Regions from separate parts of the Homo sapiens genome. Here regions 2, 3, 4 and 5 are each linked to region 1. Evidence: promoter capture Hi-C in 16 types of primary human blood cells and fetal thymus (Javierre and others, 2016). All regions are on one chromosome and are shown on one strand. The core of a region is centred on a gene start or on the middle of the fragment in contact, and the rest is flanking DNA. Distances in the headings are between cores, read along the strand shown. Region 1 holds the start of CSF3 (colony stimulating factor 3). Region 2 overlaps WIPF2 (WAS/WASL interacting protein family member 2). Region 3 overlaps WIPF2 (WAS/WASL interacting protein family member 2). Region 4 overlaps RAPGEFL1 (Rap guanine nucleotide exchange factor like 1). Region 5 overlaps CASC3 (CASC3 exon junction complex subunit).

What was found. Contacts are between HindIII fragments. The CHiCAGO score rates a contact against its expected background, and 5 or more counts as called.
Region 2: a contact is called between a fragment that was not itself captured here and the fragment with the promoter of CSF3 in region 1, in 1 of 17 cell types (naive B cells). The highest score is 5.4, in naive B cells.
Region 3: a contact is called between a fragment that was not itself captured here and the fragment with the promoter of CSF3 in region 1, in 1 of 17 cell types (naive CD8 T cells). The highest score is 5.7, in naive CD8 T cells.
Region 4: a fragment that was not itself captured here is called in contact with the fragment with the promoter of CSF3 in region 1 in 1 of 17 cell types (neutrophils); the score reaches 5.3 in neutrophils.
Region 5: a contact is called between a fragment that was not itself captured here and the fragment with the promoter of CSF3 in region 1, in 8 of 17 cell types (M1 macrophages, M2 macrophages, erythroblasts and 5 more). The highest score is 6.3, in M1 macrophages.

Annotation. Positions count from the first base shown.
Region 1 is chr17:40,012,301-40,017,879 of GRCh38, forward strand. CSF3 (colony stimulating factor 3) reads left to right here and starts at 3,140. Exons shown (of 5, transcript NM_172219.3): 1 at 3,140-3,214; 2 at 3,391-3,545; 3 at 3,933-4,040; 4 at 4,185-4,331; 5 at 4,495-5,513. The coding sequence starts at 3,175. The coding sequence ends at 4,659. It overlaps PSMD3-AS1 (PSMD3 antisense RNA 1), which reads right to left and starts at 2,341. Exons shown (of 3, transcript NR_198981.1): 1 at 2,254-2,341; 2 at 1,938-2,059; 3 at 1-504. RefSeq lists an enhancer at 3,050-3,549. The HindIII fragment of the contact is 16,036 bases long and covers 1-5,579 here.
Region 2 is chr17:40,263,792-40,269,370 of GRCh38, forward strand. WIPF2 (WAS/WASL interacting protein family member 2) reads left to right here. Exons shown (of 8, transcript NM_133264.5): 5 at 699-1,355. Among named protein-coding and RNA genes, the nearest start is that of CDC6, 21 kb to the right of the region's middle. The HindIII fragment of the contact is 189 bases long and covers 2,539-2,727 here.
Region 3 is chr17:40,238,013-40,243,591 of GRCh38, forward strand. The region is part of intron 1 of WIPF2 (WAS/WASL interacting protein family member 2); the gene reads left to right. It also overlaps the pseudogene RNY4P8. Among named protein-coding and RNA genes, the nearest start is that of WIPF2, 21 kb to the left of the region's middle. The HindIII fragment of the contact is 5,946 bases long and covers 1-5,006 here.
Region 4 is chr17:40,192,971-40,198,549 of GRCh38, forward strand. It overlaps RAPGEFL1 (Rap guanine nucleotide exchange factor like 1), which reads left to right. Exons shown (of 15, transcript NM_016339.6): 13 at 1-20; 14 at 393-447; 15 at 694-2,680. The coding sequence ends at 818. MIR6867 (microRNA 6867) reads left to right here and starts at 627; the gene lies at 627-693. RefSeq lists enhancers at 1,473-1,973, 1,598-1,647. The HindIII fragment of the contact is 6,356 bases long and covers 1-5,579 here.
Region 5 is chr17:40,157,730-40,163,308 of GRCh38, forward strand. It overlaps CASC3 (CASC3 exon junction complex subunit), which reads left to right. Exons shown (of 14, transcript NM_007359.5): 4 at 4,024-4,182; 5 at 4,273-4,424; 6 at 4,996-5,172. MIR6866 (microRNA 6866) reads left to right here and starts at 4,204; the gene lies at 4,204-4,272. The HindIII fragment of the contact is 7,918 bases long and covers 1-5,579 here.

The sequences.
Region 1 (5,579 bases), core at 1,890-4,389:
CCAGATAAGAGAATAAAAGCAGGCTGCCCGAGCCAGCAGTGGCAACGGGCACAGGTCCCCATCCACAATATGGCAGCTTTGTTCTTTTGCTGTTTGCGATAAATCTTGCTACTGCTCGCTTTTTGGGTCCACACTGCTTTTATGAGCTGTAACACTCACCACGAAGGTCTGCAGCTTCACTCCTGAAGCCACTAAGACCACGAGCCCACCGGGAGGAATGAACAACTCCGGCCGCGCTGCCTTAAGAGCTATAACACTCACCGCGAAGGTCTGCAGCTTCACTCCTCAGCCAGCGAGACCACGAACCCACCAGAAGGAAGAAACTGCGAACACATCTGAACATCAGAAGGAACAAACTCCAGATGCACCACCTTAAGAGCTGTAACACTCACTGCGAGGGTCCGCGGCTTCCTTCTTGAAGTCAGTGAGACCAAGCACTCACCAGTTTCGGACACAAGCCCAGGAGTTTGAGATCAGCCTGGGCAACATGATGAAATGCCCTCTCTGCAAAAAAAAAAAAATTACAAAAATTGGCGGAGCATGGTGGTCCGTGCCTGTGGTCCCAGCTACGCGGGAGGCTAAAGTGGGAGGATCGCTTGAGCCTGGGAGGTGAAGACTGCAGTGAGCTGTGATTGTACCACAGCCCTCTAGGCTGGGGGACAGACTGAGACCCTGTTTCCCCTCCGCAAAAAAATTGACAAAAGTGTAATAAGAGGTGCCTGATATGGCTAGGCGCAGTGGCTCATGCCTGTAATCCCAGCACTTTGGGAAGCCGAGGCGGGCGGGTCACCTAAGGTCAGGAGTGTGAGACCAGCCTGGCCAACATGGAGAAAGCCCATCTCTTCTAAAAATACAAAATTAGCCGGCTGTGGGGGCAGTGGTGGAGCATGCCTGTAATCCCAGCTACTCAGGAGGCTGAGGCAGGAGAATCACTTGAACCCAGGAGGCGGCGGTTGCAGTGAGCCGAGATCGTGCCATTGCACTCCACCCACTCCAGCCTGGGCAACAAGAGCCAAACTCTGTCTTAAAAAAAAAAAAAAAAAGTGCCTGACATATAAGAGGTGTGCAATGCAATAGTTGCCAGGCAACATGTTTAAGAATGTGGAGCTCCTGCCTTCCATGGTCCTGTTAAAAACCCACCCTCAAGGCCAGGTGCAGTGGCTCATGCCTATAATCCCAGCACTTTGGGAGGCCGAGGCGGGTGGATCACCTGAGGTCAGGAGTTCGAGACCAGCCTGACCACCAACATGGTGAAATCCCACCTCTACTAAAAATACAAAATTAGATGAGCATGGTGGTGCATGCCTGTAATCCCACCTACTTGGGAGGCTGAGGCAGGAAAATCACTAGAACCAGGGAGGCGGAGGTTGTAGTGAGCCGAGATCGTGCCATTGCACTCCAGCCTGAGCAATGAGCGAAACTCCATCTCAAAAAAACAACAACAAAAACCCACCCTCTACTCCCAGGGAGCTGGGTACAGAGCTGGGCCACATCAGTGCAAGGTGCTGAGCCACAGAGCTAAGGCGGAGCTGCAGGACCGCGGACCAGATAACAGTGTGTGAGATCAGTGTGTGAGATCAGACGTCCCTGCCATTGGTGACCACCAGGGGGCCCCCAAGCACCAGAGATGGCCCCATCCAGTCACCACATCCACTTCTCATCCAGAGATGTCTGTTTCTTGGCACGCTGGGGTAAATTAGGACAGAAGGTGACAGTCTTGGGTGTGGTCAGTCAGACTGCCCCAGGCAGGCCTTGTGGCCTGTAGAAAACGTTCAGGCCTAGGCCGGGCACGGTGGCTCACGCCTGTAATCCCAGCACTTTGGGAGGCCGAGGCGGGTGGATCACGAGGTCAGGAGATCGTGACCATCCTGGCTAACACGGTGAAACCCCGTCTCTACTAAAAATACAAAAAATTGGCCGGGCATGGTGGCGGGCACCTGTAGTTCCAGCTACTCGGGAGGCTGAGGCAGGAGAATGGCGTGAACCCGAGAGGCAGAGTTTGCAGTGAGCCGAGATCGCGCCACTGCACTCCAGCCTGGGCGACAGAGCAAGACTCCATCTGGAAAAGAAAAAGAAAACGTTCAGGTCTGAGCCAGAGGCCCAGGCTGTAATTCTGTCACTTACCATGACCTTGGGCAAGGCACTTCCTTCCCTGGCCCAGTTCACGGGGTTGGAATCGACTCCAAGGTCCCTTCCAGCATTAACGCTGCATGGTTCTAAGATGAGAAGATGGGGCAGTTTCCCCTCTCTCACCCCAGCCCGTGTCCACTTCAAGGTGAATGACCAGGGAAGTCACGTGTCCCAATCCCGCAGTTCCAAAGCCCTTGGGGACCCTACTGTCAGGGTCGTGCACGAGGAGGTGAAGGTCAGGTGAGCCAATCGCCTCGAAGGGTCTTGCCTCATTCGGGACAGACATCCGGTTTCCTCTGGCTCTACCGGGATTCTAGGGGCTTTAGCCGAATGAGTCATGGGGGGCGGGGGGGTTTCTGGGGGAGTTCCCAGCTAATCAACTTGGGACAGGACAGCCTGGAACTTTCGATGGTGCCTATCCAAGTGTGGGGTGGGCACAGCAGCCAAGACCCAATGTCCTTATCTCAGGTAGGGGCTCAGGAGGTCTCCCAGACAGGCAGCCTCCGGAGAGTTTGGGGGTAGGAATGGGAGCAACCAGCTTCTTTTTTTCTCTCTTAGAATTTGGGGGCTTGGGGGACAGGCTTGAGAATCCCAAAGGAGAGGGGCAAAGGACACTGCCCCCGCAAGTCTGCCAGAGCAGAGAGGGAGACCCCGACTCAGCTGCCACTTCCCCACAGGCTGCTGCCGCTTCCAGGCGTCTATCAGCGGCTCAGCCTTTGTTCAGCTGTTCTGTTCAAACACTCTGGGGCCATTCAGGCCTGGGTGGGGCAGCGGGAGGAAGGGAGTTTGAGGGGGGCAAGGCGACGTCAAAGGAGGATCAGAGATTCCACAATTTCACAAAACTTTCGCAAACAGCTTTTTGTTCCAACCCCCCTGCATTGTCTTGGACACCAAATTTGCATAAATCCTGGGAAGTTATTACTAAGCCTTAGTCGTGGCCCCAGGTAATTTCCTCCCAGGCCTCCATGGGGTTATGTATAAAGGCCCCCCTAGAGCTGGGCCCCAAAACAGCCCGGAGCCTGCAGCCCAGCCCCACCCAGACCCATGGCTGGACCTGCCACCCAGAGCCCCATGAAGCTGATGGGTGAGTGTCTTGGCCCAGGATGGGAGAGCCGCCTGCCCTGGCATGGGAGGGAGGCTGGTGTGACAGAGGGGCTGGGGATCCCCGTTCTGGGAATGGGGATTAAAGGCACCCAGTGTCCCCGAGAGGGCCTCAGGTGGTAGGGAACAGCATGTCTCCTGAGCCCGCTCTGTCCCCAGCCCTGCAGCTGCTGCTGTGGCACAGTGCACTCTGGACAGTGCAGGAAGCCACCCCCCTGGGCCCTGCCAGCTCCCTGCCCCAGAGCTTCCTGCTCAAGTGCTTAGAGCAAGTGAGGAAGATCCAGGGCGATGGCGCAGCGCTCCAGGAGAAGCTGGTGAGTGAGGTGGGTGAGAGGGCTGTGGAGGGAAGCCCGGTGGGGAGAGCTAAGGGGGATGGAACTGCAGGGCCAACATCCTCTGGAAGGGACGTGGGAGAATATTAGGAGCAGTGGAGCTGGGGAAGGCTGGGAAGGGACTTGGGGAGGAGGACCTTGGTGGGGACAGTGCTCGGGAGGGCTGGCTGGGATGGGAGTGGAGGCATTACATTCAGGAGAAAGGGCAAGGGCCCCTGTGAGATCAGAGAGTGGGGGTGCAGGGCAGAGAGGAACTGAACAGCCTGGCAGGACATGGAGGGAGGGGAAAGACCAGAGAGTCGGGGAGGACCCGGGAAGGAGCGGCGACCCGGCCATGGCGAGTCTCACTCAGCATCCTTCCATCCCCAGTGTGCCACCTACAAGCTGTGCCACCCCGAGGAGCTGGTGCTGCTCGGACACTCTCTGGGCATCCCCTGGGCTCCCCTGAGCAGCTGCCCCAGCCAGGCCCTGCAGCTGGTGAGTGTCAGGAAAGGATAAGGCTAATGAGGAGGGGGAAGGAGAGGAGGAACACCCATGGGCTCCCCCATGTCTCCAGGTTCCAAGCTGGGGGCCTGACGTATCTCAGGCAGCACCCCCTAACTCTTCCGCTCTGTCTCACAGGCAGGCTGCTTGAGCCAACTCCATAGCGGCCTTTTCCTCTACCAGGGGCTCCTGCAGGCCCTGGAAGGGATCTCCCCCGAGTTGGGTCCCACCTTGGACACACTGCAGCTGGACGTCGCCGACTTTGCCACCACCATCTGGCAGCAGGTGAGCCTTGTTGGGCAGGGTGGCCAAGGTCGTGCTGGCATTCTGGGCACCACAGCCAGGCCTGTGTATGGGCCCTGTCCATGCTGTCACCCCCAGCATTTCCTCATTTGTAATAACGCCCACTCAGAAGGGCCCAACCACTGATCACAGCTTTCCCCCACAGATGGAAGAACTGGGAATGGCCCCTGCCCTGCAGCCCACCCAGGGTGCCATGCCGGCCTTCGCCTCTGCTTTCCAGCGCCGGGCAGGAGGGGTCCTGGTTGCCTCCCATCTGCAGAGCTTCCTGGAGGTGTCGTACCGCGTTCTACGCCACCTTGCCCAGCCCTGAGCCAAGCCCTCCCCATCCCATGTATTTATCTCTATTTAATATTTATGTCTATTTAAGCCTCATATTTAAAGACAGGGAAGAGCAGAACGGAGCCCCAGGCCTCTGTGTCCTTCCCTGCATTTCTGAGTTTCATTCTCCTGCCTGTAGCAGTGAGAAAAAGCTCCTGTCCTCCCATCCCCTGGACTGGGAGGTAGATAGGTAAATACCAAGTATTTATTACTATGACTGCTCCCCAGCCCTGGCTCTGCAATGGGCACTGGGATGAGCCGCTGTGAGCCCCTGGTCCTGAGGGTCCCCACCTGGGACCCTTGAGAGTATCAGGTCTCCCACGTGGGAGACAAGAAATCCCTGTTTAATATTTAAACAGCAGTGTTCCCCATCTGGGTCCTTGCACCCCTCACTCTGGCCTCAGCCGACTGCACAGCGGCCCCTGCATCCCCTTGGCTGTGAGGCCCCTGGACAAGCAGAGGTGGCCAGAGCTGGGAGGCATGGCCCTGGGGTCCCACGAATTTGCTGGGGAATCTCGTTTTTCTTCTTAAGACTTTTGGGACATGGTTTGACTCCCGAACATCACCGACGCGTCTCCTGTTTTTCTGGGTGGCCTCGGGACACCTGCCCTGCCCCCACGAGGGTCAGGACTGTGACTCTTTTTAGGGCCAGGCAGGTGCCTGGACATTTGCCTTGCTGGACGGGGACTGGGGATGTGGGAGGGAGCAGACAGGAGGAATCATGTCAGGCCTGTGTGTGAAAGGAAGCTCCACTGTCACCCTCCACCTCTTCACCCCCCACTCACCAGTGTCCCCTCCACTGTCACATTGTAACTGAACTTCAGGATAATAAAGTGTTTGCCTCCAGTCACGTCCTTCCTCCTTCTTGAGTCCAGCTGGTGCCTGGCCAGGGGCTGGGGAGGTGGCTGAAGG
Region 2 (5,579 bases), core at 1,383-3,882, 250 kb after region 1:
CTTGGCCTCCCAAAGTGCTGGGATTACAGGCATGAGCCACTGCGCCTGTTGTAGAGTAGATTTTAAGTGTTTTCACCATTAAAAAAAATATGTGAGGTGATGGATATGTTAGTTTGATTTAATCATTCCACAACGTATACATATAACGAGACATTGTACCCCATAAATACATAAAATTATTACTTGTCAAAAATAAAGTAACATTTAAAATAAATAACAGTGTATCCTGAGCCTGAAACCGTATTAAAACCCAGAACTAGGCCGGACGTGGTGGCTCACGCCTGTAATCCCATCACTTTGGGAAGCCGAGGTGGGCAGATCACCTGAGGTTGGGATTTCGAGACCAGCCTGTCCAACGTGGTGAAACCCCATCTCTACTAAAAATACAAAAATCAGCCAGGTGTGGTGGCGCACACCTGTAATCCCAGCTACTCGGGAGGCTGAGGCAGGAGAATCACTTGAACCCAGAGGTTGCAGTGAGCTGAGATTGCACCATTGCACTCCAGCCTAGGCAACAACAGCGAAACTTCGTCTCAAAAAAAAAAAAAAAAAAAAAAAAAAAGAAAAACAAAAAACCCAGAATTATTCAATTCCTTTCCCTGCTGCCATGCAGGTTGCACTAAGGAGCCGAGTGAAGTAGGGATACTGACCAATATCTGTCCAGCTCTGTTGACCCTGTGTTGTCTATGTATTTGTAGAGAACCTAGCTGGTAAGCCAGCCCTGCAAATCCCCAGTTCTCGAGCTGCTGCCCCAAGGCCTCCAGTATCTGCCGCCAGCGGGCGTCCTCAGGATGATACAGACAGCAGCCGGGCCTCACTCCCAGAACTGCCCCGGATGCAGAGACCCTCTTTACCGGACCTCTCTCGGCCTAATACCACCAGCAGTACGGGCATGAAGCACAGCTCCTCTGCCCCTCCCCCACCACCCCCAGGGCGGCGTGCCAACGCACCCCCCACACCTCTGCCTATGCACAGCAGCAAAGCCCCCGCCTACAACAGAGAGAAACCCTTGCCACCGACGCCTGGACAAAGGCTTCACCCTGGTCGAGAGGGACCTCCTGCTCCACCCCCAGTCAAACCACCTCCTTCCCCTGTGAATATCAGAACAGGACCAAGTGGCCAGTCTCTGGCTCCTCCTCCTCCGCCTTACCGCCAGCCTCCTGGGGTCCCCAATGGACCCTCTAGCCCCACTAATGAGTCAGCCCCTGAGCTGCCACAGAGACACAATTCTTTGCATAGGAAGACACCAGGGCCTGTCAGAGGCCTAGCACCTCCTCCACCCACCTCGGCCTCCCCATCTTTACTGAGTAATAGGCCACCTCCCCCAGCCCGAGACCCTCCCAGTCGGGGAGCAGGTAAGTGCTTGGAAGCACCTTTTTCCCTATCATGCTGTGAGTTGATTTTATCTTTCCCCAGAGCACTCCTTGAAGACAGTAATTCGTTTATTCACTCAGTGGGTTTATTGAGTACCTTTTTATGTGTCAGGTCTGTTGGTAGGGAAATAGCAATAAATAGAAAAGACAAAAAAATTTGACAGTCAAACTAGTAAAATATATAAATACATAGTATGCAGTATGCTTTAGAGAATTACAAAGCAGAGGAGAGGAATAAGATATACTGGGGCGGAGGTCGGGATGATGATATCTTTAATTGGAGGAGTGGGGAGAGAGTCAGGACAGTCCTTACTGATACGGTGAAAATTTGACAAAGACCTTAAGAAAGTGACGAGTAAGCTTAGTAGTTATCTAGGAGAACAGCTGTTGCAGGCAGTGGGAACAACAAATGCAGAGGCCATAAGGCAGAAGTATTCTTGAAACATTTTGGGGACAGCAAGGGGGCCATTGTGGCAAGACTACAAAGAGTGAGGGGAGGGAAGAGTGGTAGGACTTGGAGGTTGGAAAGCTGGAGCTGCAGGGGAGAGCGCACTGCAGGATTTTGCAAAGACCTTGGATTTAACTGTGTGAGATGGGAAGCCACTGGAGGGTTTTAAACAGAGAAGTAGTATGATTTGATTCACCTTTTAAAAAGATCATTAACTCCTATGTTGAGAACAGACCGCAGGAGGACAAAGGTGACAAAAGGAGACCAGTTACTGGGCTGTTGCAGTAAACGGCCAGATGGTTAGGACTACTGTGAATTTGTGGGAAGATAGGTGTTCAGTTTGAGACAAGTTTGAGATGCCTGTTAGGTAATCAAGAAGAGACAATGAATTGGTAATTGGCTATCAGACTCCAAAGTTGAGGGGAGAGGTTTCGGCTAGAGAGATACATTTGAATGGTGTTGAAAACCACATGCTGGATGAAGTCACCTAAGGAGTGAATATAGATAAGAAGAGGCCTAGGAGGCTGAGGCAGGAGAATCGCTTGAACTCAGGAGGCAGAGGTTGCAGTGAGCCGAGATCACGCCACTGCACTCCAGCCTGGGCGACAGAGTGACAGTCCATCTCAAAAAAAAAAAAAAAAAAAATGAGGGCTGAGCCCTCGCCCTCCTACATTAGAGGCAAAAGAGATGAAGAATACCCAGCAGAGGAAACAGAAAAGCTTCTAGTGAGGATGGAAGGAGAAAAACCAAGAATGTGATGGAAAAACTCCAAGGTAGAGTAAGTGGTCAGCTGTGCCCAGTGCTGCAGATGGGTCAGGTAAGTTAAAGACCAAGAACTGGCATTGGTCTTAGTATCATGGGACCCTTTTGAGTAGTTTCAGTGGAGTGGTGGAGGGTGAAAGTGAAAGCTTAATTGGAGTGGGTTCAAGAATGCAGGAATAGGAGGAGAGAAATTGGAGATAGCAATATAGAAATCTCTTAAAGAGTTCGCTGTAAAGTCCAGGAGAGAGGGGTGAAGATAAGTGAAGTGATTGTTGGACGAAGATGTGGGGTTGAGAGTTGTTTTTTTCCCATCCCAAGATGGGAGACCTATTTGTATGCTGATGGAATGAGTAGCATGAAACTTAGGAGAGAGGGAAAAAATTGAATCAGAAGAGAGGGAACAGATTGCCTGAATAATGACCTGGAGGAGGCCAGAGAAAAGAGAATGTGATCGATAGATAAAAAGGGTTGGCCTTAGATAGGAACATAGTTCTTCCATAGTAACAAGAGGGGAGGCAGAGCATATAGGCTTAGAAGCAAGTGGGTAGGTGGGTGTAGTGGTAGAAGCATGTGGAAAGTTTATTCTAATTTGCTTCTGTTTTCTCAGTGAAATGGAAAGCAAGAGCATCAGCTGTGATTGAGGCGAGGGAAGGAGAAGGAGAGTTGAGGAGAGAGAAGAGGCATGAAATGGTCATCTGGAGCGTGGGAGTGTGGGTGGACTAGGGAAGTGTGCTCAGATAGGCAACCACGCGAAGGGCCCACTTGAGATTATGGGCCATACATTTCATGTGAGATTAATTAGTCTCATGTGTTCAGTTGTGATTTGCAGGTACAGAAAAAGAGTAGAGCTGTGTTTAACCAGCGTTAGCATGTTTTAGGCATGTGCGACTCTAAGGGAGAGTGGGGCAGGAAGGGAAGGGTGTATGTGAGGGAGTGATTGCAATAATGGAGCCTAAGCTGGGTGAGGAGGGAATTTAGGAACCCTGGAAAAAGAAGAGGTTGTGTAATCTCGTTATAATTAGCATAACTGAAATTTTAGAGTGAGGGAGACCGTGACAGCTCTCTGGGGCCTTATTGGACATGGGAATTTTGGCTCCCATATCGTTGTATCATTAGACTTTGAGACATACCCTCCACAAACAGCTTCTTGGCCTTTATTTATTTATTTGTTTGTTTGTGTTTTGAGACAGAGCCTTGCTCTTTCGCCCAGGCTGGAGTGCAGTGGTGCAATCTCTGCTCATTGCAACCTCTTCCTCCCAGGTTCAAGTGATTGTTGTGTCTCAGCCTCCTGACTAGCTGGAATTACAGGCATGTGCCACCATATCTGGCTAATTTTTGTATTTTTAGTAGAAACGGGTTTTCGCCGTGTTGGCCAGGCTGGTCTCAAACTCCTGACCTCAAGTGAGCCACTGCGCCCAGCCCTTAGCTTTTATTTTAAAGTCAGTTTCTACAGGTATAGAACATTGATTAAGGAGTTATGTCATGGAGTCTGGGCATGATGGCTCACGCCTTAATCCCAGCACTTTGGAAGGTTGAGGCCAGCAGATCATTTAAGCCCAGGAGTTCGAGACCAGCCTGGGCAACATGGCAAAACCCTGTCTCTACAAAAAATAATTTTAAAAAATTAGCCTGGCATGGCGGTGCATGCCTGTAGTCCCAGCTACTTGAGTGGCTGAGGTGGGAAGACCACTTGAGCCTGGGAGGTGGAGGCTGCAGTGAGCTGTATTAGTGCCACTGCACTTCAGCCTGGGCAACACAGCAAGACGTTGTCCCAAAAAAAGGGTAAAGGTTATATCATTAAGTAGCAAGGCATTAAAAGTCCATTAACCTGTGTGCAGCTTCTTTGTTCAGTACATACAGATTTGTACTCTAGCAGCTGGCCATCTAACATAGGGCAGCCAAACAGTGGCCTACTGCATTCCTGATCCCATATCTCCCTAGCTTTAGCCATAATGAGGTAGTGCTAAGGTGGCCCTTGATTCTATAAAGTTCAGGTTTGACTTTTTTTTTAACTTAGGGATTTTACAAAAGACTCTTTGTCTGAGCAAAGCTCATATCTTTCTGACCTCATCCAGGAATAGAAGAAGAGAAAAATGCAATTTCCGTGGGTTGAGCTGAGCACTTTTAAATGTCTGCAGGCTTTCTTGCTTCCCACTTTTCCATTCTTTCTCTGTGGTAGCTAGGACTACAGGAGTGTTGCCACCATGTCTGGCTCATTAAAATTTTTTTTTATTTTTATTTTTTAAGATGAGGTCTGTGTTGCCCAGGCTGGACTCAAACTCTTGGGCTCAAGCCATCCTCCCACCTTGGCCTCCCGAAGCCCTGGGATTACAGATGTGAGCAATTGTACCTGGCTAGAGCAGCAATTCTTAAGAGTGATAAACCAGAAAAAAATTGAGATATTTTAGTCAGAGATCATTTGAGTATTGCCTCGATTTGTTGTGTGACATTGGACAGATCACTGATTCTCTTTTCTCACCGATTCTCTTTTCTCACCTGTAAAATGTACATTTGAAAAGTACAGTGGGGGTCAGGGACACAGGCTCACACTTGTAATCCTAGTGCTTTGGGAGGCTGAGGCAGGAGGATCGCTTGAGACGGAGTTCAAGACCAGCCTGGGCAACATGGTGAAACCCCATTACTACAAAAAATAAAAAAACTAGGCCGGGTGCAGTGGCTCACGCCTGTAATCCTAGCAATTTGGGAGGCTGAGACAGGCAGATCACCTGAGGTCAGGAGTTCAAGACCAGCCTGGCCAACATGGTGAAACCCCATCTCTCTACTAAAATACAAAAATTAGCCAGGCATGATGGCGGGTGCCTGTAATCCCAGCTACTCGAGAGGCTGAGACGGGAGAATCGCTTGAACCCGGGAGATTGTGGTTGCAGTGAGCTAAGATTGCACCACTGCACTCCAGCATGGGTGACTGAGCGAGACTCTGTCTCAAAAAATAAATAAATAAATAAATAAAAATAAATTTAAGAAACCTAGCCAGG
Region 3 (5,579 bases), core at 784-3,283, 220 kb after region 1:
TCAAGATGGTGCCACTGCACTCCAGCCTGGCAACAGAGGGAGACTCCGTCTCAAAAGAAAAAAAAAAAGCTCTTGACCTTGTGATCCACCCGCCTTGGCCTCCCAACGTGCTGGGATTACAGACGTGAGCCACCACCCCTGTCTCCAAGGGCTCTTTTTATTATCTGAATTTTACATGTATTTTTGGACATTGTCAGGAATTCTGTTTTGTTACTTTGATTCTTATCTTTCGTGTTAGAGATTTTCTTCAGTTGTTTGATAATTCTTAGCTGCTTATTCAATTTTTATTATTTATTTGTTTATTTATTTGAGATGGAGTCTGGCTCTGTTGCCCAGGCTGGAGTACAATGGCACGATCTTGGCTCACTGCAACATCTGCCTCCCCAGTTCAAGCAATTCTCCTGTCTCAGCCTCCCAAATAGCTGGGATTACAGGCACCCGCCATCATGCCCGGCTAATTTTTGTAGTTTTGTAGAGACAGGGTTTTACCATGTTGGCCAGGCTGGTCTTGAACTCCTGACCTCAGGTGATCTGCCTGCCTCGGCCTCCTAAAGTGTTGGGATTACAGGTGTGAGCCACTGCACCTGCCCTTATTTATTTATTTATTATTATTTTTTTGAGACAGAATCTCACTCTGTCGTCCAGGCTGGAGTGCAGTGGCACAATCTCGGCTCACTGCAAACCTCCGCCTCCCGGGTTCAAGCGATTCTCCTGCCTCAGCCTCCCGAGTAGCTGGGATTATAGGCGCTTGCCATCAGTGTGGCTAATTTTTGTATTTTTAGTAGAGATGGGGTTTCACCACCTTGGTCAGGCTGGTCTGAAACTCCTGACCTCATGATCCGCCCGCCTTGGCCTCCCAAAGTGCTGGGATTACAGACGTGAGCCACCGTGCCCGGCCATTTATTTTTTAAGAGATGGGGTTTTGCTGTGGGGCTCAGGCTGGATTCAAACTCCTGGGCTTAAGTTATCCTCCTACCTCCAAGTAGCTGGGACTACAGGCTCATGCCACTGTGTCTGGCTTCTGTTTATTTTATTTTATTTATTTATTTATTTATTTATTTATTTATTTATTTATTTGAGACGGAGTCTCGCTCTGTCGCCCAGGCTGGAATGCAGTGGTGCGATCTCGGCTCACTGCAAGCTCCGCCTCCCAGGTTCACGCCATTCTCCTGCCTCAGCCTCCCAAGTAGCTGGGACCACAGGCGCCCGCCACCACGCCCGGCTAATTTTTTGTATTTTTAGTAGAGACGGGGTTTCACTGTGTTAGCCAGGATGGTCTCGATCTCCTGACCTCGTGATCCGCCCCCTTCAGCCTCCCAAAGTGCTGGGATTACAGGCGTGATCCACTGCGCCCAGCCTTGGCTTCTGTTTATTTTTAAGAATGTGACACTAAGAAGCTCATCAAGTGGTGGACCCTACTATAGGGTATTGGGATTACAGGCACCCTGGCAGGCTGGTAAAAGGACTCCTCCAGTCCCCTGCCTAGAGAGTATAAGCCAGTGGCAGGTGTTTGAGTGTAAGTCTGGCTGCCAATGTTTTTGGAGCCAAGTGAGAGAAAGGAGCTGGGGAGGTAGGAGAGGTCTCACCGTTGACTCATTAGGCTTTTCACTTGATACCCTTATTTCCGTCACTGCCCTTAGCTGTGACTAGTTCCTTTGGACTCTTTGGTTCAGCTTTTCTTTTTTTTTTTTTTTTTTTTTGAGACGGAGTCTCACTCTGTCATCTCTAGGCTGGAGTGCAGTGGCGCTATCTTGGCCCACTGCAACCTCTGCCACCCGGCTTCAAAGGATTCTCCTGCCTCAGCCTCCCAAGTAGCTGGGATTACAAGTGCCTGCCACCGTGCCCGGCTAATGTTTGTATTTTTAATAGAGGTGGGGTTTTACCATCTTGGCCAGGCTGGTCTTGAACTCCTGACCTCAGGTGTTCCACCCACCTTGGCCTCCCAAAGTGCTGGGATTACAGGCATGAGCCACCGAGCCTGGCCTGGTTTAACTTTTCTAATTTGCCTGGCAGCATGGGGAGGGATGGAGGAATCCATTTGTTATACAGACTTTTCTTTTTTTTTTTAAGATGGAGTCTTGCTCTGTTGCCCGGGCTGGAGTGCAGTGGTGCAATCTCAGCTCACTGCAACCTCCACCTCCCAGGTTCAAGCAATTCTGCTGCCTCAGCCTCCCAAGTCGCTGGCAACTACAGGCATGAGCCACCACAATCGGCTAATTTTTTTGTATGTTTAGTAGAGACGGGGTTTCACCAGGTTGACCAGGCTGGTCTCGAACCCTTGAGCTCAAGTAATCCACCTGCCTCGGCCTCCCAAACTTCTGGGATTACAGGTGTGAGCCACCGTGCCAGTCCCAGACTTTCAACCAGTCCTCCTGTTTAGCCCCTTCTACACTATCACCCCATCTTCCCGAGGTACCAGGTGCCTCTAATTTCTGAGACGTTTTGATTCAGAAGTTCATCTGTGGTGGGAATCTGCTTGCTTCTTCCCACTGCAGTGTTTTGTTTTTTTTTTTTACTTTTGTGAAGTTATTTATCACTAGTGCATTTGCTTTTTACCTTCCAAAACTTTGTTGACATCTCTCTCTCTGCTGTCTCCTTTCCCAGTTTTTTTGCTTGTTGTTTGGTTTATGTCTTTATAAAAAAAAATCCTGGCCAGGCACGGTATCTCACGCCTGTAATCCCGGCATTTTGGGAGGCTGAGGCAGGCAGATCACGAGGTCAGGAGATGGAGACCATCCTGGCTAACACAGTGAAACCCCGTCTCTACTAAAAATACAAAAAAATTAGCTGGGCGTGGTGGCAGGCGCCTGTAGTACCAGCTACTCGGGAGGCTGAGGCAGGAGAATGACATGAACCCGAGAGGTGGAGCTTGCAGTGAGCCGAGATAGCGCCACTGCACTCCAGCCTGGGCAACAGAATGAGACTCCGTCTCAAAAAAAAAAAAAAAAAATCCTTTTGCTGTAATTTTAATGGTGTTTTATGATGGAACATTGATTAATGCATGCAATATATTATGTTTAACATGTTATTCAACATATTCATCAGCTTTTCCTTGCCAATATCCATTCAGACACCACAGTGTCTTTACAGTTGATTACTAATACTCCTTTAGCATAGTGTTTTCTAGACTTCCCTAACACCAAGAATCACTTAAAGTGCTTGTTGGATATACAGATTACCAGATCATTCTCCTGGAAAACTTCTGATTTTAGTTGGTTTAGATTAGCGCCCAGGGATCTTTTTTTAAAGTGTGTTTGTTTTTAAACAAATGCCCTAAATATGTCTTATCTTCAGGCAAGTTTGGAAACCCTGCTTTAGAAGGATTCTTTTTAAACCATTAATGCCATCTTACATCTCCATGGCAAACTCCTTAGCCTTCCCCTAATACTGCTTTTGTATTCAGACTCTGTTTTAGCCTGTCTAGCTTTGGTCTGGATTTCTGAATTAGCATGTGTGTCTTTCCTCTGATTAACTCCCCTCTTTAGTATTAAATGTTGGCTGATGGTAATAACTTTGGGCTTGTGTGACTTCATTTTTTTTAGTCAGCGTCTCTAAACCCGCTCCTGGGATGTACAGGGGAGGAAATACTAGTTATGAACATTGAGCTGCTCTGCACCAATTTACTAAGTCCAGGAATCAGTGTTTTTGGTGAAATGGAAAATTGACTCAGGCTTTGAAAACAGATGTCCTAATCTGCCTTGGGTTTATGCAGCGTCATTTTTGGAGATGTTGAAGCACTGTGATTTGAAGTTTGTTTTTAACTTTACAATCAAAAGGACACAATTCTCCCTTTTGTATTATAGATTCCTACGCCTAGAAAAGAAAAAGGGTTGTATCTTTTGCTGCCAGTCTGTAAAGTATCTGGAAATGTGTTTGCAGCTGCTCCTTGGTTGTGAATTGCTTAGAGGTTAAGAGCCAAATAGTACTTGTCTTAGCAGTGTTGCAGAGGCTAACTGTGGTACCCTAGTTCTCAGTTCTTGGAAATCTTGTGGCTGTTATTAACTAAAATACAGCTGAGGAGGCCATGTTGGCTCTGACATAGAGTTGATTTGCATTCTAAGATGAGCAGCTCTATAGAAATAGCTGTAATACAATTTTACAACTTCCATTGAAACAGTTTTTTGGAAGGCTATGGCAGGAGGATTGTTTGAGGTCAGGAGTTTGAGACTGGCCTGAGCAACATAGTGAGATCCTGTCTTTGCAATCAAAATAAAACGATTAGCTGGATGTGGTAGTCCCAGCTACTCGGGAGGCTGAGGTGAGAAGATTGCTTGAGCCTGGGAGGTTAAGGCTGCAGTGAGCTGTGATTGTGCCACTTGCACTGCAATCTGGGTTGTAGGGTGAGACCCTTTCTCAAGGAAGAAAGAAAGAAAAACCAAGAAATTTTTTGTTGTTGTTGTTGTTGTTGGTTTGTTTTTTGAGACAGTCTCACTCTGTTACCCAGTGGCACAATCTCAGCTCGCTGCAACCTCCGCCTGCCGAGTTCAAGTGATTCTCCTGCCTCAGCCTCCCGAGTAGCTGGGATTACAGGCGCCCGCCGCCACGCCTGGCTAATTTTTTTGTATTTTTAGTACAGACGGGGTTTCACCATGTTGGCCAGGCCGGTCTCAAACTCCTGACCTTAGGTAATCCACCTGCCTCGGCCTTCCAGAGTGCTGGGATTACAGGCATGAGCCACTGTGCCTGGCCAAGAAACAGTTTTGATGAACAAAGTCACAAAAACAAAGCTACATCGAAAGTGTTATTGTCTCATTGATTATTGGTCACTGGCTGTGTTATAAGGCATGACTTTGAACTATTACTGATTTACTGCAGTTGACTATTTTCTGTACACGTCCGCCTATCTCCCAGTGCTGTACTTCAGTGCTTTCAGGATAATGAGATTTTTTCTTTGCCTTGAGGGGTTGGGCGTGAGGTCATTCCCTGACTTCTGTTTTGGATGATTTTCAGATATTTAATTTACATGGCTTTTGCATTAGTTATTCCTAGTCTGTCTTTTTAAATGAAGCTTTCTTTGCAGCTCTGGTTATTTAATTGAACACAGGAGTAGACTTCTCATTGATTTGTCATCATTTTAGATGAGAGGACTCAGCTCCTGGGCTGCCTTGTATCTGGGAATAACCCATAGTATCTAATATTTACCACATAAGGTAGTATATGAAGGTAGTCTTCCGAATTTACATTTTTAGGGCTTTAAAAAAATAATCTGGGGCTGGTCTGATGGTAGTGGGTTATCAGAGCTTATTAACATTAGTGTCACTGCAGTTGGTATACAAACCCCCCACTGCTAAATTTGACTGGCTTTAAAAAAAATCTGGGGGAAGAGGAAAGAGTCACATTAGTGGGGAAAGCTGCGTTTTGGGGATGCATTATGTTTTTGTTAAAAAAATATGTTTGAAAGAATTTCATCATTCAGTAGTTATATCTTCTTCCTCCTTCATTTTCTCTTTCAGAGAGGAGTAAAACATCCAGGTTTCATTTGTTGTAGAAGTCCTAGGATTTTTCAGGTTTTTTTTTTTAAGACAGAGTCTTGCTCTGTCGCCCAGGCTGGAGTGCAATGGTGCCATCTCGGCTCACTG
Region 4 (5,579 bases), core at 1,300-3,799, 180 kb after region 1:
TGGTGAACATCGAGAAGCTGGTGAGTGAGTGGCACTGCAAACCCCTAGTCCCACAAGTGGGGGGCTTGCATCCTCTCCCTCTCTCATCACCTCCCAAAAATAGCAGCCTTCCTCCAAGTGCCCAGCTTGCCTAACAGACTCTTGACTGTCTCCCTGGTGGCATCACTGTGGCAACCCACCCACAGGTGGCAGAGCTGACAGGCAGCTTGGGGGCAACTTCACCTCCCCCTCACATGGCACTCTGTTACACCCACTCCTTTGGTCCTTCAGAGACCCTCCAGAATTGGAGACTGGAGGGAGTAAAGCAGAGTGGGAGAATGGCGGAGGGGGAGCATAAGAGGGGGAGCCTCTTTCTGTGCCCCTTTCAAGGCTCATTCCTTGTCATCTCCCAGCATTCAGTGGCCGAAAAAGTGAGGACAATCCGCAAATACCGGAGCCGGCCCCTTTGTGAGTACCCAGGGTACTGAGAGCAGTACAGATAGAGCTTTGACTGAACGGGAGGGTTCAGGGGAGAACTCCCTGTCCAGATGTGTATTTCCATACACTTGCTGGTTCCCCATTCTCTCCTTGCCTCTGCAGAGGCCTTCCTGCCCAACATCTGTCTCAGTCCACAGCCTGATCTTCTGCCCGGTGTGTGTGTAGAGGAAGAAGGGAAGCTGGGAACCTGACTGCCTCTCCCTCTTTACCCACTAGGCCTGGACATGGAGGCATCCCCCAATCACCTGCAGACCAAGGCCTATGTGCGCCAGTTTCAGGTCATCGACAACCAGAACCTCCTCTTCGAGCTCTCCTACAAGCTGGAGGCAAACAGTCAGTGAGAGTGGAGGCTCCAGTCAGACCCGCCAGATCCTTGGGCACCTGGCACTCAAGCACTTTGCACGATGTCTCAACCAACATCTGACATCTTTCCCGTGGAGCAACTTCCTGCTCCACGGGAAAGAGGTCGATGGATTTACCCCTGGACCCATAAGTCTGTTCATCCTGCTGAAGTCCCCTCCCCATTGCTCCTTCAAGCCAAAACTACACTTTGCTGGTTCCTGTCCCCTCTGAGAAAGGGGATAGAAAGCTCCTTCCTCTATGTCCTCCCATCGAGATCTGTTCTGGGGATGGAGCTTCCAACTTCCTCTTGCAGCAGGAAAGAATGCTGCTCACCCTTCTGTCTTGCAGAGTGGGATTGTGGGAGGGATTGGCAGCCTTCTTCTCCACCACCTGTCCAGCTTCTTCCTGGTCAGGGCTGGGACCCCCAGGAATATTATGTTGCCGTGTGTGTGTGTGTGTGTGTGTGTGTGTGTGTGTGTGTGTGTGTGTGTGTGTGTGTGTCTTCTTTTAGGGAGCAGGAGTGCATCTGGTAATTGAGGGTGGATGTTGTGTGTGCTGGGGAGGGGTCCTTCTGTTTGGTGCTACCCTTGTCTACTCTGCCCCTGGATGGTGCGGGGTGCTTTCTCCACCCCCACACTCCCTGCTCAGCTCCTCGTGCTGCCCTGCATGCCCAGGCTTGTGAGCCAAGCTGCTTTTTGGGGCAGGGAGTAGCAGCAGGTGGGAGGGGTTACCCATCAGCCCTTGCAAGTCCCCCACTCAGGCCTCTGGAAGGTCCAGGGATGGGCTCTGATGAGAGGGTAAAAGATGCTCAGGGAAACACAGGCCTCAGCTGCCTAGAGGACCCTCCCCCTGCCTTGCAGTGGGCTCGGGTAGAGCAGTATCAGGAGCTAGGGTTGTCTGCTGCCCACACTCCTGCTTTTTGGGATATCTAACTGCTAAGGAGGGAGTTGACATCCCCCTTCTGGCTCATGTGTCTGACACCAACAACATGGTCTCTGTCCCTCTCTCTTTGACTCTCCCTTTGTCCTCCCCATAGAGCTGGGGTGGGGTGGATCCCTATACCTGGGGCAGGCAGCCCCAAAGTGGGGGAGGGGGATGGCAGAGACTGTAAAGGCGCCACTGGACTCTGGCAAGGCCTTTATTACCTTTACTCCCCTCCCTCTCCCATCACCAGCCTCAAGGCCTGAGGGGTGCAGGGGCTCCTGGCAGCTACTGGGTGAGGTTTCCTGGCACAGACTCACCCTTCTTTCTGGCACCACCTCTTTCCCTTTTGAAGAGACAGCAACAGCCGTAGCAAAAGCAGCTGCTGCTCCTGCTATGAGGGTGTATATATTTTTTACCCAAAGCTCTGGAATTGTACATTTATTTTTTAAAACTCAAAGAGGGAAAGAGCCTTGTATCATATGTGAACATTGTATCATAGGTAATGTTGTACAGACCCTTTTATACAGTGATCTGTCTTGTTCCTGCAGCAAAAATCCTCTATGGACATAGGAGGTGCTGTGTCCCATGCCCTCTTGCCCTGACAGTGTCCCATGGGCCCCCTTCTGCTCCCTGCCCCCTCCCTGCTACTGCTGATGCACTCTCCTCTCCCTGCAGCCCCTGGCTTCCCAGCCTTCCTCCTGACCCCTTCCAACAGCCTTGGAACTCCAGCTGCCACCACCCTCTGGGTCGGACACTGGGACCCACTGGCCCAGTCTTGGCTGCTGCTTACCCCTAGCCTTGATGCCTGCCCAGGGACCCCCAGCCCCCTCCCGTTGCCCTGCAGCTTTAACAGAGTGAACCATGTGTATTGTACAGGCGCGGTTGTCATTGCAGAAACCGCTGGGTGGAGAAGAAGCCGATAAAGTCTATGAATCAACCTGCCTGTTGTTCTCCATTCTGTTTTCTTTGAGGCTGTGGAAGTGCTGAGGGAGGGGAGAGGGGATGGCCGCCCAGTGCTGTCAGGAGCAGGGCTGTTCTGGAGTGACTTTGAAAATGTGGGTGGCGGGGTACAGTGGCTCATGCTTGTAATCCCAGCACTTTGGGAGGCCGAGGCGGGCAGATCACCTGAGGGCGGGAGTTCGAGACCAGCCTGGCCAACATGGTGAAACCCTGTCTCTACTAAAAATACAAAAATTAGCCAGGTGTGGTGGTGCATGCCTGTAATCCCAGCTACTTGGGAGGCTGAGTCAGGAGAGTAGCTTGAACTCAGGAGGCGGAGGTTGCAAGGCGCAGTGGCTCTCCAGCCTGGGCAACAGAGCAAGACTCTGCCAAAAAAGAAAATGTGGATGAGAGGAAAAGATGCCAACCTCACAAGACATGTCACATAATGCCTGGAACTCAGAAGAGGGGATGGGATGTTTTCGTTCATACATGTTCCAGGTGGCATAAATATGAGATCACATTTAATTCTAATGCTAAGGTAGAAGATTGAGGCACAGCAGTCCCAGAATAATTACTAGTGAGGGCACTGGTCCCCTAACCCAGGTCTGTCCCCTGAAGACAGCATGTACTGTTCACACAACCAATATTTACCAGTTCTACTAAGTTTTGTTTTGTTTTGTTTTTTTTGAGACGGAGTCTTGCTCTGTTGCCCAGGCTGGAGTGCAGTGGCGTGATGTCTGCTCACTGCAAGCTCTGCCTCCCAGGTTCATGCCATTCTCCTGCCTCAGCCTCCCAAGTAGCTGGGACTACAGGTGCCCACCACCATGCCGGGCTAATTTTTTTTTTAATATTTTTAGTAGAGATGAGGTTTCACTGTGTTAGCCAGGATGGTCTGGATCTCCTGACCTCGTGATCTGCCCACCTCGGCCTCCCAAAGTGCTGGGATTACAGGCTTGAGCCACTGCGCCTGGCCCAATCCTACTAAGATTATAGGGTGCAGAGAGCCTAGCGTTAGGCTTAAATGATAGCCTGAGTTCCAGGAGACATCATACACTCAAATAGCTATACCTGGGCCCTTGATAATCCCCATTCACATCTGTTTCTGCCTCAGTCTTCTGCATCTCAGAAAAATGATCCTCTCATCCACCCAGGTTTTCTCTCTCTGTTGCCCAAGCTGGAGTGCAGTGGCGTAATCTTGGCTCACTGCAACCTCTGCCTCCCAGGTTCAAGTGATCCTCCTGCCTCAGCCTCCTGAGTAGCTGGGATTATAGGCAGAGGCCACCACACCCGGCTAATTTTTGTATTTTTAGTAGAGATGGGGTTTCACCATGTTGGTCAGGTTGGTCTCAAACTCCTGACCTCAAGTGATCCACCCACCTCAGTCTTCCAAAGTGCTGGGATTACAGCTGTGAGCCACTGCCCAGCCACCTACCCAAGTTTTCAAGGCAAAAATACAGGACTCACCATTGGTGCCTCTTTCTCCCACCCTTCATTCATCTCAGCCAGTCCCATCGGCTACAATTCCAGAGCATTTTCTGAGTGATCCACTTCTGTATGACTCCCCTATGACCATACTAGTCCAAACCACCTTCATAGCTTCCCTGCATGACTACTGCAGCCTCCTACCTGGTCTGTCAGCTTCCTCTCTTTGATCCACCCCTACCTGCCACCAGTTTGATTTCCACATGGCAGCCAGGGTGTTCTTTCAGAAACACCAATCACGCTGGGCATGGTGGCTCAAGCCCATAATCCTAGCACTTCGGGAGGCTGAGGCAGGAGGATCGCTTGAGCCCAGGAGTTCAAGACCAGCTTGGGCAACATAGTGAGACCCTGTCTCTACAAAAAATAAAAAATTAACGAGGCTGCAGTGAGCTGCGATAGCACCACTGTACTATAGCCTGAGCAACAGAGTGAGACCCTGTTTAAAAAAAAAAAAAAAAAGAAAGGAGAGCAAGGGAAGGAGGGAGGGAGGGACAGAGGGAGGGAGAGAGGGAGGGAGGAAGGAAAGAAGGAAGGAAGGAAGGAAGGAAAAAAACCCAGTGTCTTTCAACACATGAATGGACAAATGCATTGGGGCATATTCTTATGGTGGAATACTATATAGCAAGAAAAAAGAACAAATTATTAATACCCACGTGAATGAATCTCACAGACTTAATGTTGAATAAAGGAAGCCAGACACAGGCTGGGTATGTTGGCTCACACCTCTAATCCCAGCACTTTGGGGGCCTGAAGTAGGAGTGAGAGGTGAAGCTGGCTGGGCTTCTGGGTCAGGTGGGGACTTGGAGAAGTTTTCTGTCTAGCTAAAGGATTGTAAATGCACCAATCAGTGCTCTGTGTCTAGCTAATCAGGTAGGGGACTTGGAGAACTTTTCTGTCTAGCTAAAGGATTGTAAAAGCACCAATCAGCGCTGTGTGTCTAGCTAAAGGTTTGTAAATGCACCAATCAGTGCTCTGTGTCTAGCTAAAGGTTTGTAAATGCAGCAATCAGTGCTCTGTGTCTAGCTAAAGGTTTGTAAATGCACCAATCAGCACTCTGTAAAAACGAACCAATCAGCACTCTGTAAAACGGACTAATCAGCATTCTGTAAAATGGACCAATCAGCGCTCTGTAAAATGGACCAATCAGCAGGATGTGGGTGGGGCCAGGCCACCCGAGCCAGTAGCGGCAACCCACTGGGGTCCCCTTCCACGCTGTGGGAGCTTTGTTCTTTTGCTCTTTGCAATAAATCTTGCTGCTGCTCACTCTTTTGGTCCGCACTATATGAGCTGTAGCACTTACCACAAAGGTCTGCAGCTTCACTCTTGAAGCCAGCGAGACTACGAACCCACTGGGAGGAACAAACAACTCCAGAAGCGCCACCTTTAAGAGCTGTAACACTCACTGCTGAAGG
Region 5 (5,579 bases), core at 1,013-3,512, 140 kb after region 1:
GAATTCCAAGTATAACTTTTGACTCACCCAAAACTTAACTACTAAGTCAACTGGAAGCCATACCAATAACATAAACAGTCAGTGAATATGTATTTTATATTTTATGTGTATTATGTACTGTACTCTTACAATGAAGCTAGAGAAAAGAAAATGTTATTAAGAAATCATTCACTATTAAGGAAACATACTATTCAGTGGAAGTGGATCATCATAAAGGTCTTCATCATCTTTGCATTGAGTAGACTTCAGAAGAGGAGGGGTTGATCTTGCTGCCTTGGGTGACAGAGGCAGTGGAAGGAGAGGCAGGCATACTTGCTGCAACTTCTATTGAAAAAAAATTTGCGTAGAAGTGGACCTGAGTAGTTCAAACCCCTTGTTCCAGCGTCAACTATACCCAGATGCTGAGCAGGGAAAAATGAGGAAGAGGGATTAATTGGCTTGTCTGGGCCAATCAGGCTGACTCAGCTCTATTTGAAGAGATGGCAGAAACTTAGAGTTTGAGAGTTTCTCAATCAGGAATTCAGGAATCTCATGTTGAGCCTCTTTGACCAGATTATTGGGGCCAGCCTGGGTCTTGAGTGACAGGGCAGTCTGGTTCAGTTCAAGTATCAGACCCAGTAGGTGAGTGAGAGACCAGTGTACATACATCTACCAGGTTTCAGATGTAACCCACCAATGAAGACTAGACCACCTTTCCTTGAACCCATTTCTCTGTGTTCTCGTAGGCCTCCCTAGCCATAGCTCTGCCTCCTTAGGTCCAAATCTGGGGAGGACAAGGAGAGGAGAGTAACCCTATTCTAAAGCCAGTTCCCTTATCATGAGCCTTAGCTGCTGCCTTTTCCTACCTAGAACTAGCCACACGTCCATTTCCTGGCCCTTTCTAATGGCCTAATGATCCTTTGTGTGTAGACCCAGCACTTTCTGTGTCATGAACAGTGTTACCCAATCTTGATGTGGTAAAAGAGGGAAGAAGATAGTAAAAAGAGAGAGAGAGCACTTGGACTAATTTTTTTCATTTCTGAAATGTGATGGTTGTACAAGTTGTCCTTTAAGGTTTTTTAGGTCAAATTTTTGTAATTATGTGATTCTGGATATGTTCTGGCTGCAGGAATTTTCTGCTGCAGAAAACCAGTACTCATAGGCATTAAAAAAAGCTACCATTTTCCAGCTTGAGGATAAGTGCATTGGGAAATCATGGAGTCATTATCAAGAGTTTGCACATCTGGTTGGGCGCAGTGGCTCATGCCTGTAATCCTAGCACTTTGGGAGGCTGAGGCAGGAGGTTCGCTTGAGCTCAGAAGTTTCAGACCAGCCTGGGTAATGTGGTGAAACTCTGTCTCTACAAAAAATACAAAAATTAGTTGGGCATAGTGGTGTACATCTGTAGTCCCAGCTACTTGTGGGGGCTGAGGTGGGAGGATTACTTGAGCCCAGGAAGTCAAGGCTATAGTCAGTTGAGATCACACCACTGCACTCCAGCCTGGGCGACAGAGTGAGACCCTGTCTCAAAAAAGAGTTGCATGTCTACTCATTCAGTTCTCATTATCTATAGACTAAAATATACATCTCCCCCCTTATGTACTACTATTTTTGAATATATGTAAATTAATAAAATGTAAACTTAAAGTGTTATTGAATGTATAACAGTTTGTTGTTTTTTGTTTGTTTTTGAGACAGTCTCTGTTGTCCAGGTTGGAGTGCAGTGGTGCGATCTCGGTTCACTGCAACCTCTGCCTCCCAGGTTAAAGTGATTCTCCCGCCTCAGCCTCCTGAGTAGCTGGGACTACAGGCACGCACGCATCAGTTCATTGTGTGTTTTTTTTTTTTTTTTTTTGAGACAGGATCTCTCTCTGTTGCTAAGACTGGAGCGCAGTGGCACAATTATGGCTCACTGCAACCTCTACCTCCTGGGCTGAAATGATCTCACACCTCAGCCTCCCAAGTTGCTGGGACTATAGGCGCACACCACCATTCCTGGCGAATTTTTTTTTTTTTTTTTTTTTTTTTGACAGGGTCTCACTCTTTTGCCCAGACTAGTATCAGTGGTGCAATCTTGGCTCACTGCAACCTCCACCTCCTGGGTTTAAGCAATTCTCTTGCCTCAGCCTCCCAAATAGCTGGGATTACAAATTCATGCCACCATGTCTGGCTGATTTTTGTATTTTTAGTAGAGACAGGGTTTCACCATGTTGGCCAGGCTGGTCTCAAACTCCGGACCTCAAGTGATCCACCTACCTCGGCCTCCCAGAGTGTTGGGATTACAGGCGTGAACCACTACATCCAGCCTAGCAGTTGTTTGTCATTGTATGTTTTCTCAGTGAATATCTCATGGGGATCCATGAAAATTTTTAGATCCTAAAAAGGGGTCCGCATAATCAAAAAGGTTGGGAATTTCTGCTCTAAGCCATTTTGAGATGGGAGAGTTCACAACTTACGTCAAAGTATAGTTATTAGGCACTGCATGTTTAAGAGACAATTCATGGGCCAGGTACAGTGTTCATGCCTGTAATCCCAGCCCTTTGGGAGGCCAAGGGAGGAGGATTGCTTGAGCTCAGCAGTTTGAGAACTGCCTAGGCAACATAGCGAGACCTCGTCTCTACTAAAAATAAAAAAAAATCAGCCAGGTGTGGTGGCATGTGCCTGTAGTCGCAGCTACTTGGGAGGCTGAGGTGGGAGGATCACTTGAGCCCAGGAGATTGAGATTGCAGTAAGCCATGATTGTGCCACTGCACTCCTGGGCAACAGAGCAAGACCCTGTCTCAAAACAGAAAAAAAAAAAAAGATAATTCATGGAGAGAGAGATTATCAAGGAAGATTAAGCTCCTCTTATATGTTAGGTATCGTATAGTAAGTCTCCCTTCCATTCTTATCCTCTGGGCCCATTAGAGGCTGCCGCTGTTTTTTTGTTTTTTTGTTTTGCTTTTTCGAGATGGAGTTTTGCTTTTGTCACCCAGGCTGGAGTGCAGTGGCACAAACTTGGCTCACTGCAACCTCCGCCTCCCGGCTAATTTTTGTATTTTTAGTAGAGACAGAGTTTCACCATGTTGGCCAGGCTGGTCTCGAACTCCTGACCTCAAGTGATACGCCTGCCTCGGCCTCCCAAAGTGCTGGGATTACAGGTGTAAGCCACTGCGCCCAGCCTGCCACTTTTAATAATTCTTGCATATGTTCCAGGAATACCTATGTGGATATATATGTATGTATGTGTGTATTTTTTTTAATGTGATATTTTTAAAATAGTGTCTTTTTTTTATTATTACTATTTTTTGCGACAGAGCCTTGCTCTGTCGCCCAGGCTGAAGTGCAGTGGCGCAGTCTCTGCTCACTGCAAGCTCTGCCTCCCTGGTTCAAACGATTTTCCTGCCTCAGCCTCCCGAGCAGCTGGGATTACAGGTGCCTACCACCAAGTGCGGCTAATTCTTATATTTCTAGTAGAGATGGGGTTTTGCCATGCTGGCCAGGTTGGTCTCACACTCCTGACCGCAGGTGATCTGCCTGCATTGGCCTCCCAAAATGTGATTACAGGCGTGAGCCACTGTGCCAGGCCAAAATAGGATCTTTATTTTCTAGAAATATGGGTAAGAATATTGATTTGTTTGCTTTTCAGTTCTATGTTGTACTAAAAATTTATTGATAAATGTATTCCTAAAGAGTAGAAAATTGAAATGCAGCCAGGCACGGTGGCTCACGCCTATAAACCCAGCACTTTGGGCGGCCAAGGCAGGCAGATCACGAAATCAGGAGTTCAAGACCAGCCTGGCCAACATGGTGAAACCTGGTCTCTACTAAACATACAAAAATTAGCCAGGCGCGGTAGTGGGCGCCTATAATCCCAGCTATTTAGGAGGCTGAGGCAGGAGAATTGCTTGACCCCTGGAGGCAGAGGTTACAGTGAGCTGAGATTGTGCCACTGTATTCCAGCCTGGGTGACAGAGACTTTGTTTTGGGGTTGGGGGCAGGGGTGGGAATTAAAATGCACCGTTCAGATCTTATATGCATCGCTGACAGGGAAACTTTTTTCAGGGTGAAGAAGGTGAATACAGTGAAGAGGAAAACTCCAAAGTGGAGCTGAAATCAGAAGCTAATGATGCTGTTAATTCTTCAACAAAAGAAGAGAAGGGAGAAGAAAAGCCTGACACCAAAAGCACTGTGACTGGAGAGAGGCAAAGTGGGGACGGACAGGTTAGTACATTCCACAGTCCTCCATTTTAGAGGCTGGAATAGAGATTCTTGAGGCTTGGAAGAGTAAGGATCCCTTTATCTGTCCTCTAGGAGAGCACAGAGCCTGTGGAGAACAAAGTGGGTAAAAAGGGCCCTAAGCATTTGGATGATGATGAAGATCGGAAGAATCCAGCATACATACCTCGGAAAGGGCTCTTCTTTGAGCATGATCTTCGAGGGCAAACTCAGGAGGAGGAAGTCAGGTAAAAGCCACTTGCTGCTGCTGCTGTCTAACATGTATTTTACACATGTAGGCCAGGTACTTCGATTTGCCTGTATTTCATTTATTACAGCATTTTAAGATAAGTATTATGATTATCCTTATCGTACAAATGAGGAAAGTAGGCTTAGAATATTTGGTAACTCTTGGTGAGGCAGCTAAGATACAGACCTAGGACAGTTTGTTTCCAGAACTCATCTTCTCTTAATTATTATACTTTTGCTTTTCTTAGTCTGAGGTGTAAGGCGTCTGAGAAGTGAAATACTTGCATAGGTTGCCTTTTAGGAGAAAGGAGATGTTTCAAAGGTACTGAATGGCATGAAATGAAGTCTTTTTCTCATTTCTGTGTCTGTTATATTTGAGCCCAGCAGGCCCTGAGGTTCTGTGATTCACGCTTGCTTTGGGGAGGCCTGTTTTTTATAATCTCTTTGGGATGATGAGGAGACTACGTAAAGTTCCTATTGTCCCCCTGCCTCCCTGACCCATTTTGTTCAAGAACATCTCTACTTGGAGAATTCTGCTGACCCAAGACACTTTTCCTTCATTTTATCCAGACCCAAGGGGCGTCAGCGAAAGCTATGGAAGGATGAGGGTCGCTGGGAGCATGACAAGTTCCGGGAAGATGAGCAGGCCCCAAAGTCCCGACAGGAGCTCATTGCTCTTTATGGTTATGACATTCGCTCAGCTCATAATCCTGATGACATCAAACCTCGAAGAATCCGGAAACCCCGGTGAGGACATTTTAGAACATAAGACCAGGCTGGGTATGGTGGCTTACGGTGGCTTACACCTGGAATCCCGGCACTTTGGGAGGCTGAGGCAGGAGGATTGCTTGAGGCCAGGAGTTCAAGACCAGCCTGGGGAACATAGTGAGACCCTGTCTCCAAAAAAAAAAAGAAAAAAAGGAAAAAAAAAATAGAGTGTAGACTCTTGATATCTTTTAGAAAGAATTCTCTTTGCTTTTCTTTTTATTTATTTATTTAAGACAGAGTCTCGCTGTGTTGCCTAGGCTGGAGTGCAATGGCATGTTCTCGGCTCACTGCAACCTCCACCTCTTGGGTTGAAGTGATTCTCCTGCTTCAGCCTCCTGAGTAGCCAGGATTACAGGCGCGTACTATCGCGATCGGCTAATTTTTGT